4 separate regions of the Homo sapiens genome follow, and all the other regions are linked to region 1. The links are contacts of gene promoters, found by promoter capture Hi-C in human tissues and cell types (Jung and others, 2019). All regions are on one chromosome and are shown on one strand. Each heading gives the region's core, a stretch centred on a gene start or on the middle of the fragment in contact. The rest is flanking DNA. Distances are from core to core; before and after follow the strand shown.

Evidence for each region. The method cuts DNA at HindIII sites, captures the fragments that hold promoters and counts their contacts. A contact is called where the count stands out against the background at its distance.
Region 2: a fragment that was not itself captured here is called in contact with the fragment with the promoter of SPECC1 in region 1 in 1 of the 25 tissues and cell types used here (hippocampus).
Region 3: a fragment that was not itself captured here is called in contact with the fragment with the promoter of SPECC1 in region 1 in 1 of the 25 tissues and cell types used here (dorsolateral prefrontal cortex).
Region 4: a fragment that was not itself captured here is called in contact with the fragment with the promoter of SPECC1 in region 1 in 1 of the 25 tissues and cell types used here (hippocampus).

Annotation. Positions count from the first base shown.
Region 1 is chr17:20,007,659-20,010,835 of GRCh38, forward strand. SPECC1 (sperm antigen with calponin homology and coiled-coil domains 1) reads left to right here and starts at 1,701. Exons shown (of 15, transcript NM_001243439.2): 1 at 1,701-1,766. SPECC1-DT (SPECC1 divergent transcript) reads right to left here and starts at 1,602. Exons shown (of 1, transcript NR_186461.1): 1 at 397-1,602. RefSeq lists an enhancer at 503-1,070 and silencers at 1,503-2,172, 2,193-2,372. The HindIII fragment of the contact is 29,689 bases long and covers 1-3,177 here.
Region 2 is chr17:19,519,061-19,522,237 of GRCh38, forward strand. No RefSeq gene overlaps it. Among named protein-coding and RNA genes, the nearest start is that of TRW-CCA2-1, 12 kb to the left of the region's middle. RefSeq lists an enhancer at 1-485. The HindIII fragment of the contact is 5,850 bases long and covers 1-3,177 here.
Region 3 is chr17:20,337,373-20,340,549 of GRCh38, forward strand. It overlaps the pseudogene CCDC144CP. Among named protein-coding and RNA genes, the nearest start is that of FAM106B, 78 kb to the right of the region's middle. The HindIII fragment of the contact is 4,138 bases long and covers 1-3,177 here.
Region 4 is chr17:20,264,840-20,268,016 of GRCh38, forward strand. The region is part of intron 12 of SPECC1 (sperm antigen with calponin homology and coiled-coil domains 1); the gene reads left to right. Among named protein-coding and RNA genes, the nearest start is that of FAM106B, 150 kb to the right of the region's middle. The HindIII fragment of the contact is 8,883 bases long and covers 1-3,177 here.

The sequences.
Region 1 (3,177 bases), core at 451-2,950:
CCTCCCCAAAGAAAGCATCAGGCTGGGAGGAACATTTTTAACTGGGAAATGATCAAACCTCAAAGAATAGATAATTTTAATGCTCCTTAAATTGTTCAGAGTAAAAGGAAAAAGCAAACATGCCCATTTTTTTTTCTTTTTTTTTTTTTGTAGAGATGGGGGGGTCTCACTGTGTTTCCTAGACTGGTCTCGAACTTCTGGCCTCAAGCACTCCTCCTGCCTCGGTTCCAAATTTTTTATGATGTGAGCATAACATTGATTCTGAAACCAAACAACATTAGACATTCAAAAAGAAAATTATTGCCCATCTCATTTTTGCATATCAATGCAAAGCCTGTAAATAAAATATTAGCAAACAGAATCAAGCAGTATATTTAAAAAAAAAAGACAAGTTTATTGCAGGGATAAACTGGGTTTTTATTAGGAATTTATTATAACTAGGACTCATTACTTCAATATGAGGAAATCAGCTGTCACCCGGTTTGCTCGTCCTTACAGACATCTCCCTCCTCTTCCTCTCTTCCTTTCCAGTGAAAATGTCTTCAAGTTTCCTCTACCAAACCAAAACTTCACCCCACTTCTTTTATTCTTTCCTCCTCTCTTCTCAGAACAAAGGGGTTGTTGCTGACCAGCCCAGGGTTTCTTATTTGGGGCCGGATCATTCTTCCTTGTGGGGCAGTCCTGTCCTTCAGGTAGGATGTTGAGGAGCACCCTCGTGTCTACCCACTTAGGCAACAGTAGCAACTCCCGCATCATGACAACCAAAAATGTCTCCAGACCTCCCCAAATGTACGCGGGGCGGCGAGGAGGGGCAACACCGGCCCTGGTCGAGAACCGCTAGCCTAGGCTCGCCCCTCTACCTGGGCGCCACAACTTGCCAGGGTTGGTTATTCTCCCTGGATCCTTTCCTTCCTCCTCATTTGAGCTTCACGCCCTCAAGTATGACCAAAGGTTCTGTCATTCCACTCCTGCAGTTTTCATTAAGGTCTTAGGCCACTTCCATGTCAAGAAACACAGTGGCTCTTTCTAACCCCTGGCCATGAGGCACCCCTGGAGGAGGAGCCGTGAGGGTAGGGAAGATGCTGAGGGGGATGTTGACCTTGCCGACTTCCAGGCGCCTCCGCTGCATCCCGGAGGAGGCGTTGGGCGGTGAGGGTGCAGCGGGGGGGCGGGCCCCGCAGGATGAGGTGTCCGTGTGCGGCTAGCGCCACAGGCAAGACCGGGCTCCTTGCGGGGCGGAGGTGAGGCCGTGAGCATAGCTCTCAAACTGGAGGGCGCCTCAGAATCACTTGACGGGCTTGCGAGAATGTGGACTGCTGGGCCCCACCTTCATGGTTTTAGTGCAGGAAAAACCGAATAGGCTGGGTGGGACGGAGAATCTGCATTTTCTCAAGTTCCCAGATGAGGCTGAAGCTGCTGGTCCGGGCACCACCCTTAGAAAACCTCCAGTGTAGAGTGCGGAAATGGGGTCCACATCTGGCTTGGGACGCCCAAACATCGATTATGTGCGACCAGAGGATGAGCAGATAGGGAGATGAGACACTGAGAGCTGGGAGAGAGGGGGCCCCCGGCCGCCGGCTGAAGGAGGACGGCGCAGGCGGCGGTCCGGGTACTACATCTCCCAGCGAGCCCCGCGCGGCTCGCGCTCGCCCCCTGGCGGCGATGGCTGGAGGCGCCGGCGGAGCGCGGGTCCCTCTCCTGAGCATCAGTGAGCGCCCGGAGCCGTGGCCGCTGGGGGTTGCGGCGGCGCTGAGCCAGCGGGGCCGGTGAGTACTAGCCGCGCCGCCAGCCCGCCCGCCGGCCGGCTCTTTGCGCCTCAGCCGCGTGGTCTGAAGGGATGGGCGGGCGAGCGCGGGGGTCCGGCAGTCCGTCGTGGGGGCACGGGACTGCCTTTCTGGGAAGGCGTGCTGCGTCTTCGCCGCGGGGGCCCCGGTCCCCTCGTCGCGTGTCCTGTCCCCAGCCCAGGAGGGACGTCCTGGCCTGTCCTGCCCGGCCCGGAGCGGTGGGACCGGTGCCGCAGGTGGCAGCGGCAGGTGGCCGCCTCCTCCCCTCCGGGCCCGAGGGTTGTCGCAGGGACCCGGGACTGAGAGCCAGGTGGCTCCCGACAGCTGCGGCCCTGGAGGCGACCCCAGCCCTCGCCGCAGTGGGACAGGTGCGCGGGCACGCCCGGCCCCGGCTCCTGGGTCTCGGGAGCCTCCCGCACCCTCCCTGTTGTGCCTTGGGGGTGCTGCGTGGTGCAGAGGACCGAGAAGCCCTTCGCCCTCGGCGTCCGCCGCGCTCCCGCCCCTTCCTGGCCGGGGTGACAGGGGAAGGGCTAGGGCTGCGCATCCCGGGTCAGCTGGGGCGCCGCGGCGCAGTGCACCTGGAAGGCCCGGGGGCAGCGCGCGGTGCCCGTGGGTTTCCCGGTGGTGCGGACCTGCGGGCGTGCGGAAGTAACGACCTCCTTCCCCAGTGCCCATGCAAGGAAATTAGTGTTATGTGCTTGCTTTTTTTTTTTTTTTTTCCTAAGGAAGTTTGACTCTGAATATCTTATTTTGCTGGAGCTCCATTTGCCAGCACGTAAGTTTATGTAATAAGCGGCATACAGTTCGGAAAAAAATTTTCCTGTGAAAGTGCTCTTCCTTGCCCTCTGCAGGAAGAATTACGCCGAGCTGGTTGGCAGGCTTATCCACCAGCAACTGTAGGAGCTGCAGGCAGCAGATAAAGTGTTTTTTGAGTAAGGGCACAAGTCAGCCCTTCAGGACAATTTTTGTTTTTGGAAGATTCTGTTATCCAGTTCCAAACACCGTGTTATTTCAGTGTTGAAGATGGGGGAGGAGGGAGGAGCACAGGCTTGTCAATCCTAATACCTCAACAGAAATTAGCTTTGCAGGATTAACTCTCCAAGCAAGCGAGTTGAATTTGGTAGCCCAAACTACAGCTGAAGCTGAGCCTCCATACTAAAGCCTGTCTCAGTTTTAATAGTTTTTCGCTTGATTCGTTTGCCTCTTCCAAGTAGGTGATCTTATTGTCTGTTAAACAACAGATGTCTCTCATGTTTTTACTTTTTTCCTTGTCTTCCATAGATTACTCTCGCTGCAGTGTTGACTATTGAGGTTAAATAGGAATCTTTGTCTTGGGCTTGGTTTTAGGGAGCATTCCCTCTGTATCTTCACCGAGTGTATTCTATCACATTAA
Region 2 (3,177 bases), core at 485-2,984, 490 kb before region 1:
GCCACCTCGGCCTCCCAAAGTGCTGGGATTACAGGCTGAGCCACCATGCTTGGCCCTTATTTATTTATTTATTGAGACAGGGTCTCACTCTGTTGCCCAGGCTGGATTGCAGTGGCACAATCATGGCTTGTTGCTGCCTTGACCTCCCGAGCTCAAGCAATCCTCCTACCTCAGCCTCCTGAGTAGCTGGGACTAGAGGCTCATGACACCATGCCTGGCTAATTCTTAAATTTTTTTGTAGAGATGAGGTCTTACTATGTTGCCCAGGCTGGTCTCCAACTCCAGGGCTCAGCCTCCCATCCCATGATGCTGCCTGTTTCTTGAGTCCAGGGGTCATGTTTGATGGGGAACAGAATGACTTCAGCTAAGTCATCTCTGTCAAGACCTGGAGTATTTTATTTTAACCTCCAAAATCCAACACTAGTCCCATTCTGACCTGCACTCAAGAGCAGTGCTGAGTCAACTGAGCTCCTGGCCAGTCTGGGGGCTTGAGCTCCATCCTGGTTGAGCACGACCAAGCCCTTAGAGTTATCAGACACCCTTGGCTATCTCTGGTCTGCACATCCTGAGCCCAGATTGCAGCAGCAATTGGCCTAGGCATTAACCTTGGGCACTGCCTGGAGATTGTTGGGCTGAGTCATAAAAGATGTTGTGGGGGAAATAAAGAGAAATCAGACTGTTATTGTATCTATTAGAAAAAGGAAGACATAAGAAACTCTATTTTGATCTGTACTAAGAAAAATTCTTCTGCTTTGAGATGCTGTTAATCTGTAGACCTAGCCCCAGCCCTGTGCTGGCAGATAACATGTGCTGTATTGACTCAAGGTTTAAGGGATTTAGGGCTGTGCAGGATGTGCTTTGGTAAAAATGTGTTTGCAGGCAGTATGCTTGGTAAAAGTCATCACCATTCTCCAGTCTCGAGTACACAGTGCACTGCGGAAGGCCGCAGGGACCTCTGCCCAAGAAACCCTGGGTGTTGTCCAGGTTTCCCCCCACTGAGACAGCCTGAGATATGGCCTCGTGGGAAGGGAAAGACCTGACCGTCCCCCAGCCCGACACCCGTAAAGGGTCTGTGCTGAGGAGGATTAGTGAAAGAGGAAGGCCTCTATGCGGTTGAGATAAGAGGAAGGCCTCTATGCGGTTGAGATAAGAGGAAGGCATCTGTCTACTGCTCGTCCCTGGGAATGGAACGTCTTGGTGTAAAACCTGATCGTACATTCTATTTACTGAGATAGGAGAAAACTGCCTTACGGCTGGAGGTGAGACATGCTGGCGGCAATACTGTTCTTTACTGCACTGAGATGTGTAAAGTCAAACATAAATCTGGCGTATGTGCACATCCAGGCACAGCACCTTTCCTTAAACTTATTTTTGACACAGAGTCCTTTGCTCACATGTTTTCCTGCTGACCCTCTCCCCACAATTACCCTATAGTCTTGCCACATCCCCCTCGCCGAGATGGTAGAGATAGTGATCAATAAATACTGAGGGAATTCAAAAACCAGTACTGGTGCAGGTCCTCACTTGCTGAGCGCTGGTCCCCTGGGCCCACTTTTCTTCCTCTATATTTTGTCTCTGTGTCTTATTTCTTTTCCCACTCTCTTGTCTCCACCTTGCGAGAAGTACCCAGGGGTGTGGAGGGGCAGGCCCCCTTAAAATGTGGCCACATGTTTTGAACAAAAAGTCATAAAAAAGATGTGGCCACATGTTTTGCCCATTTGGGCTTAAAATCTCAGGGTCTTACATCTGCATATGACTAGGTGTGAGCTGGGTGGGGCGGAGGGGCGTCCTCTGTCGGGGTGTACATGGGGGCACCTTGTAGGGCAGTGCTTCAAGCCCAGAGATGTATCAAGAGATTTCTTTGACATCTTGGACAAGGATATGGACTTCTGCTGAGCATACATGTCAGACGCTCACTCTTGGTTGCCTGCTTTACACCCATTCTGCTCCTATTCTGTGCTCACAGAACCACAATGATTTTTCTTTTCAAAGAACCAGCTTTTGGTTTTGTTGGTTTTTCTCTATTGATTTCCTATTTCCAATTCTATTGGCTTCTGCTCTAATTTCTTTTTTTCTTTTCTTTTGTTTGCTTTGGATTTAATTTGCTCTTCTTTTTCTTGTTTCCTATGGTAGAAGCTTAGATGATTGATTTTAGATCTTTCTCTTTTCTCATAGATGCAGTCAATGCTAGAAATATCCCCCTAAGCACTATTTTTTAATTCTGCATCCCACAAATTCTGATAGTTTGTATTTTCATTTTCATAAGATTTAAATTCATGACCAACATGTTTTAAAACTTTTCTTGGGATTTCTTCTTTGGCCCATGTGTTACTCAAAAGCGTGTTGTTGGCCGGCGCAGTGGCTCACACCTGTAATCCCAGCACTTTGGGAGGCTGAGGCGGGTGGATTTCCTGAGGTCAGGAGTTCAAGACCAGTCTGACCAACACGGTGAAACCCCGTTTCTACTAAATACAAAAACTTAGCTGAGTATGGTGACGCATTCCTGTAATCCCAGCTACTTGAGAGGCTGAGGCAGGAGAATCGCTTGAAACCGGAAGGCGAAGGTTGCAGTGAGCCGAGATTGCGCCATTGCACTCCACCCTGGGCAACAAGAGTGAAACTGTCTCAAAAAAGAAATGTGTTGTTTAATCTCCAGATATTTTGGGCTTTTTCCAGCTAGCTTTCTGTTATTGATTTCTAGTTTAATTTTATTGTGTCCTGACAACATACTTTGTGTGGTTTCTTTTTCTTTTTCTTTTCTTTCTTTTATTTATTTTTTTTGAGACATAGTTTCGCTGGAGTACAATGGCGCGACCTTGGCTTGCTGCAACCTCTGCCTCCCTGGTTCAAGCGATTCTCCTGCCTCAGCCTCCTGAGTAGCTGGGATTATAGGCATGCACCACCACACCCGGCTAAATTTTGTATTTTTAGTAGAGACAGGGTTTCTCCGTGTTGGTCAGGCTGGTCTCGAACTCCCAATCTCAGGTGATCCATCCACTTGGGCCTCCCAAAGTGCTGGGATTACAGGCATGAGCCATCGTGCCCGGCCCAAAATGTTCTTCTGAAGCCCTGTGCACTTTACCTCACTTCCTTTAACTTTTTTTTTTTTCTTTGAGACAGAGTTTCGCTCTTGTTGCCCAGGCTGGAGTGCAATGGCTTGACCTTGGCTCACCGCAA
Region 3 (3,177 bases), core at 212-2,711, 330 kb after region 1:
TAGCAAGACTCAATACATAATTGCTGAGTAAAATAGATAATGACTCTTTGTACAAAGATGATTTTCAAGATTGTTCCCTACAGTCAAGGAGCAGAGGGAATAGACATGTAAAGCAATAATTGACAATTCGGGTGGTGGAGATGCAGTAGAAAAATCAGTAAAGTTCTAGGGCAGCCCTAAGGAAGGAGATACCTAGATACCTGTTTACCTGGGGAAAGATGAGGATGAGGGTCAACTTCACCTAGCAGTCTGTTTTTTATTTTATGTATTTTATTTATTTATTTTTAGCAGTCTGTTTTAAAAGATGAAAATATTAATACATTTGTCAGAATAATACAGGGAACCATTTCGGATGTTAGGAAGAGGTTGTACACCAATAAAGGTGTCCACAGTCATTTTGGAAATCATTAATAAGGTACTATTATGAAATGGAGAACAGTATGCAGCATTGCCTGATAATATTGCTACTGCATTCCAAAATTTTGTTTTGTTTGTGATGGCTTTGTTCATTGATGTTGGGTGGATGAATCTGTGAGTGAATCTTCAACATGATTGTATTTCTTTAACCTGGTGGCATCTAGTGTCTCCCAGAAAGTGGTTTGTTGAAGTTTTGGAGAATTAGAATTATTTCTTAAAGAAGTAAGTATTCCACTAAAGATCAAGCTTCATTTAAACTCTCAATTTATGAAATAAAATGAAATGTAATTTAAAATCTATTTTTATAAAGACTATGTCTTTTATCTAACTGTTCTAAGTAGTTTAACTGAACGTTTGGATTTTGCAGCAGAACAAGACTTGGAGCTGACATCAGAGGAAGAGCAAGAAAGACTTAAAGGATGCGAAAATAAGCAGCCACAAGTGTGGAAACATTTAAACTAAAATCTAAATTTCTGGTTTAATACTCTTTTCTTTGCTTTAATATGCTAGCCCAAATGAAATTACCTCTCAGACTAGCCTTTGAGAATCAATAGATCCTTACTTAATATTTAATTTTAAATACATTTAAACTAGTTATAAAACACAATATTGTTAGAATCTATCATAACTTATAGTTAATCTTTACCCTTGGAGTAGAGGCAAACATTCCAGAATTTTGTTTGCTCTTCCATTCTTACAATATCCTTATGGGATAAAGAAGGTAATGTCAATTATTGACTTATATTATTAAGCAACAGAAATTATGAACAATTTAACAGTGATGGCCACTAAGTTGGATTCATGGTATAGGAGTAATCATGGCCAGTGGCTCAAATTTTGCAGTTTTATATTGCCAGTTACTAATGCCTAGGTTAAAGATGTGGCCTTTCATTGACTTCACGGTCTACATTCAGTGAGAGTGGGGTTATGAAATCAACCCAACTGCCTATTAAGGGAATCATACCTTGCAGAATGGGATCTTTGGTGTTAGGGTACAAACAATAACTTTCTAACTTTTTAGATGCAGAAACTTAGTAAGAATTATCTTTAAAGTTTTAGTTAGTGTTATTAGGGGACCGTAGTATATATTAGAACTGAACTGAAGAAGATAGTCTAGATATATAACCCTATGATGTTACAGTATATAATTTGAATTAAAACTTAAGAATTTGCTTTTGTTTCTGATTGGTGTTGATTCGGGCTCCTAATAATTTGAAGATTGCCTACCCTCCAGTTAGTAATCTATAGAACTTACATGTAGTAATATATAGTACTTACATGTAGTAATATGTAGTACTTACATGTACTGTAGGGGCTCACTTTTCAAGTGAGGAAGCCTTTGTAACACTAGAAATCATCTGCTAATTCATTTTTGGTAGATTTAACACATAATGAATTAAGTTTATTCCAAACAAACAGTGACAAAGTTAAGTTTGCTGGTTCATATTTTTCTCCTCCTTTCAGCTAAGACAATTTTTTTTAACTTCTTAGTTACAAGCCAGTGATTTGGGAGTAGCCAAACCTAGATGAAGAAGTTTAACAGTTAAATTTTCATTTTAATTATTTGTGAATTTTTCTTTGTTTATACCTGTTATTTAAGGACAAAGCTATTTTTAAAACATGTAGCCCAACAGAGAAGACACCCAAGAAACAAAACAAGCAAATTAATCTTCCACTTTTGCATCTGCAGAAAACGTCTCAAGAACCAGAAATGGCTAAGGATTGTGATAGAGAGGATATACCTATATATCCAGTACTTCCTCATGTGCAAAAATCTGAGGAAATGCGGATTGAACAAGGCAAATTAGAGTGGAAAAACCAATTAAAACTCGTCATAAATGAGTTAAAGCAGAGGTTTGGTGAAATTTATGAAAAATACAAAATTCCGGCTTGTCCTGAGGAAGAGCCACTACTTGATAACTCTACAAGAGGAACAGATGTGAAGGATATTCCCTTTAATTTGACAAATAACATACCTGGTTGTGAGGAAGAAGATGCATCTGAAATATCTGTCTCAGTGGTATTCGAGACATTTCCTGAACAAAAAGAACCCAGTCTCAAAAATATCATCCATTCATACTACCATCCGTACTCTGGGTCCCAGGAACATGTTTGCCAGTCATCTTCTAAGCTTCATTTACATGAAAATAAATTAGACTGCGACAATGATAACAAACCAGGCATTGGACATATTTTTAGTACAGATAAGAACTTTCATAATGATGCAAGCACTAAGAAAGCAAGGAACCCAGAAGTGGTTACGGTTGAAATGAAAGAAGACCAAGAGTTTGATTTGCAAATGACAAAAAATATGAACCAAAATAGTGACAGTGGCAGTACAAATAACTATAAAAGCCTGAAACCTAAATTAGAAAATCTGAGTTCTTTACCACCAGATTCTGACAGAACATCAGAAGTATATCTACATGAAGAATTACAGCAAGACATGCAAAAGTTTAAGAATGAGGTCAACACATTAGAAGAAGAGTTCCTGGCTTTGAAGAAAGAAAATGTTCAACTTCATAAAGAGGTAGGGTTTTACTTGCTGCCACTCTTTGTTTTTTCTCTCAATTATCTGGTCCATTCTGATTTTCCACTTAGGAAAAGCATATGAAAATCATACAGTTTGGTTGTCTAAATCTGTAATTGTGTGTAGAAACAGATGATTTCTAAGTAATAGGAGTTTAGGAAAACTTTCTCATAATCTTTGTTTCTTAATTGACCTAAGTCTCTCTGTCAGTCTTCCAAGTGGCGTATGGA
Region 4 (3,177 bases), core at 411-2,910, 260 kb after region 1:
ACGTTTAGCTCCCACTTATAAGTGAGATGTGGTATTTGGTTTTCTGTTCCTGCGTTAGTTTGCTTAGAATAGTGGCCTCCAGCTGCATCCATGTTTTTGTTCTTTTATATGGACATGATTTTTGTTCTTTTTTATGGCTGTGTATTTCCATGGTGTATATTTACCACATTTTCTTTATCCAACCCACTGTTGGTGGGTACTTAGGTTGATTTTATGTTTTTTCTACTGTGAACAGTGCTGCAATGAACATACGAGTGGTAGAACGACTTATTTTTCTTTGGGTATATACCTAGTCATGGGATTGCTGGGTCAAATGTTCTATTTTTAGTACCTTGAGAAATCTCCAAACTGCTTTCCACAGGGGCTGAACTAATTTTATTCCCACCAGCAGTGTATAAGCATTTCTTTTTCTCCATGGCCTCGCTAGCGTCTGCTATTTTTTGGCTTTTTAATAATAGCCTCCTGGCTAGTGTTAGATGGTATCTCATTGTGGTTTTGATTCGTATTTCTTTGAAGATTAGGGATGTTGAGCGTGTTTTCATGTTTATTGAATGTATATATGTCTTCTTTTGAGAGGTGACTGTTCATTTCCTTTGCCTATTTTTTAATGGGGTTATTTGGTTTTTGCTTGTGGATTTAAGTTCTTATAGATTCTGGATATTAGATGCATAGTTTGTGAATATTTCTTCCCATTCTATGGGTTGTCTGTTAACTCTGTTGATAGCTTCTTTTGCTGTGAAGGAACTCTTTAGTTTAGTTAGATTCCACTTGTCAATTTTTTATTTTGCTGCACTTGCTTTTGGGGACTTAGCCAAAAATTCTTTGCTAAGGCCAATGTTGAAAAAGTTATTTCCTAGGTTTTCTTCTAGGATTTTTATAGTTCGAAGTCTTATATTTAAATCTGTAATCCATTTTAAGTTAATTTTTATATGTAGTGACAGGTAGAGGTCTAGTTTCTATCTTCTGCGTATGGTCAGCCAGTCATCCCAGCAGCATTTGCTGAATAGGGAATTCTCTTCCCATTGCTTGTTTTTGTCAAAGATCAGATGATTATAGGTTTGCAGCTCTATTTCTGGATACTCTAACTTGTGTATGTGTCTGTTTTTATACCAGTGCCATGCTGTTTTGGTTACTGTAGCCTTAGAATATAACATGAACTCAGGCAATGCGAGTCTCCAGCTTTGATCTTCTTACTTAAGATTGCTTTGGCTATTCAGACTCTGTTTTGGTTCCATATGAATTTTAGAATAGTTTTTTCTAATTCTTTGAAAAATGACATTTGTAGTTTGATAGGAATACCATTGAATCTGTAAAGTGCTTTGGGCAGTATAGCCATTTGAATGATACTGATTTTTCCAATCCATGAGCATGGAATGTTTCTCCATTTATTTGTGTCATAGCTGGTTTCTTTCAGCCTCCTTCCATATATTGTTCAGCTCCAGGTAATATTGTAGGTGCTGGGGGCCGGGCGCGGTGACTCACGCCTGTAATCCCAGCACTTTGGGAGGCTGAGGCGGGTGGATCACAAGGTCGGGAGATCGACACCATCCTGGCTAACATGGTGAAACCCCGTCTCTACTAAAAAATACAAAAAATTAGCCGGGCGTGGTGGCACGCACCTGTGGTCCCAGCTGCTCGGGAGGCTGAGGTAGGGGAATGGCGTGAACCCGGGAGGCGGAGCTTGCGGTGAGCCGAGATAGCGCCACTGCACTCCAGCCTGGGCGACAGAGCAAGACTCCGTCTCAAAAAATATATATATATATTGTAGGTCCTGGGGATTCCACAGTGAATGAAACAGGCAACAGTCCCTGCTCTCATGGAACTTAAATCCTCATGGGGTCTGGCAGTTAACTGAAATAAAAGGTAACATATGTACGGTATTTGAAGGTTGTATTGCCGTGGAGAGAAATAAAGCAGGGAAGGAGGGTTGGGAATGTTGGGTGAATGGTACAATTTATACATAGTGGTCAGGGAGATGACATTTGAGCACTTGCTCCCCTCTCTTGAAGGGCTTTGGTGTCTGCATGAAGCTTTATTTCCCACCAAGGCCTAGGTGTGGAGGGTCAGAGTAAGGAGGTCATTACTGTCGTTACTGTGCCAATAGAAGCTGAAGTGACACACGGTGGTCGACCCAGGTCAGCAGCACTGGGAAGTGAGCATCGCAGCCAGACCCACCTGCCGAGCTCCGGGCCAACTGCCTGACATCTCGAGTGGCCCAGGATTGAGACCCAGTGAAAGGATGTGAGTTTGCCCTCACTACGAAGTGAGGCCCAGTTCACTAAGCTCAAAATGGCGCTCCTAGGAGGCCCTTCCTCACATTCTGCTCAACTCATACACACTGGTGTCTTTTTGGAATAAGTCACTCCTGGAAAGGCCCTCTAAATTACTCTCAGTCCTCAAATTTCATACTCCTGATGTGTGTTGGCTGTTTTCCAAGCCAAGGGCAGGCCTGACTCAGATAACTCCTACCCCTCCCTTTCTTTCATCTGAAAGTCTAGTTTAAGCTCCTAGTTTTCTGTTACGATGGAGAGATTTCCATTTGTAATTTCCAGTAAGAATTCTGAAGGGACAGAAAGTCGGGAGGGTAGGTGTGACAGGAAGAATTCTGAAGATAACCCCCATGACTCTCCATGGTAGAATGTCCTCCTCTTTATATGACACAGGGAGATGGTCTGGATATGCCCACTAATCACAAACCCCTGTAGAAGCCAAGTGATGTCTCTGGCTTGTGGCAGAAGTTGGGGAAATTCAAAGCATGAGAAGGACTCTGATTGTTCTTGGTGGTTTGAAGAGGGAGGGGGCACGTGAGAAGGAGCCAAGAAGGGCCCCCTGGCTGGCAGCCAGCAGGAAACAGGGACTTTCTAGCACTAAAGCATTAGTGCTGAGGTCCTGGCCGTGCCCAGAAATTGCCATGTGGGTGCTCTGGAGTTTTGAGGTTGACAACTGCAAGTTGTGTGTAGTGCCACCGGGTCCTTTGTCTCCTCCTCTGTCCTGATGCCCTCAGACCTCAGCCAGGCCAGGGACGCTCAGTTTGCTTTGCCTTCTGCTTTCCCTCAGCTGGGGGATCTTGGGCTGGAAGTCACTCTGATGAACATGTGGAATTCAGCTCTAAGTCTCTCCTGAGTCCTCTGTTACCTCCCAGGAGGCATGATGAGGCACAGCTACCCTTCACCTCCA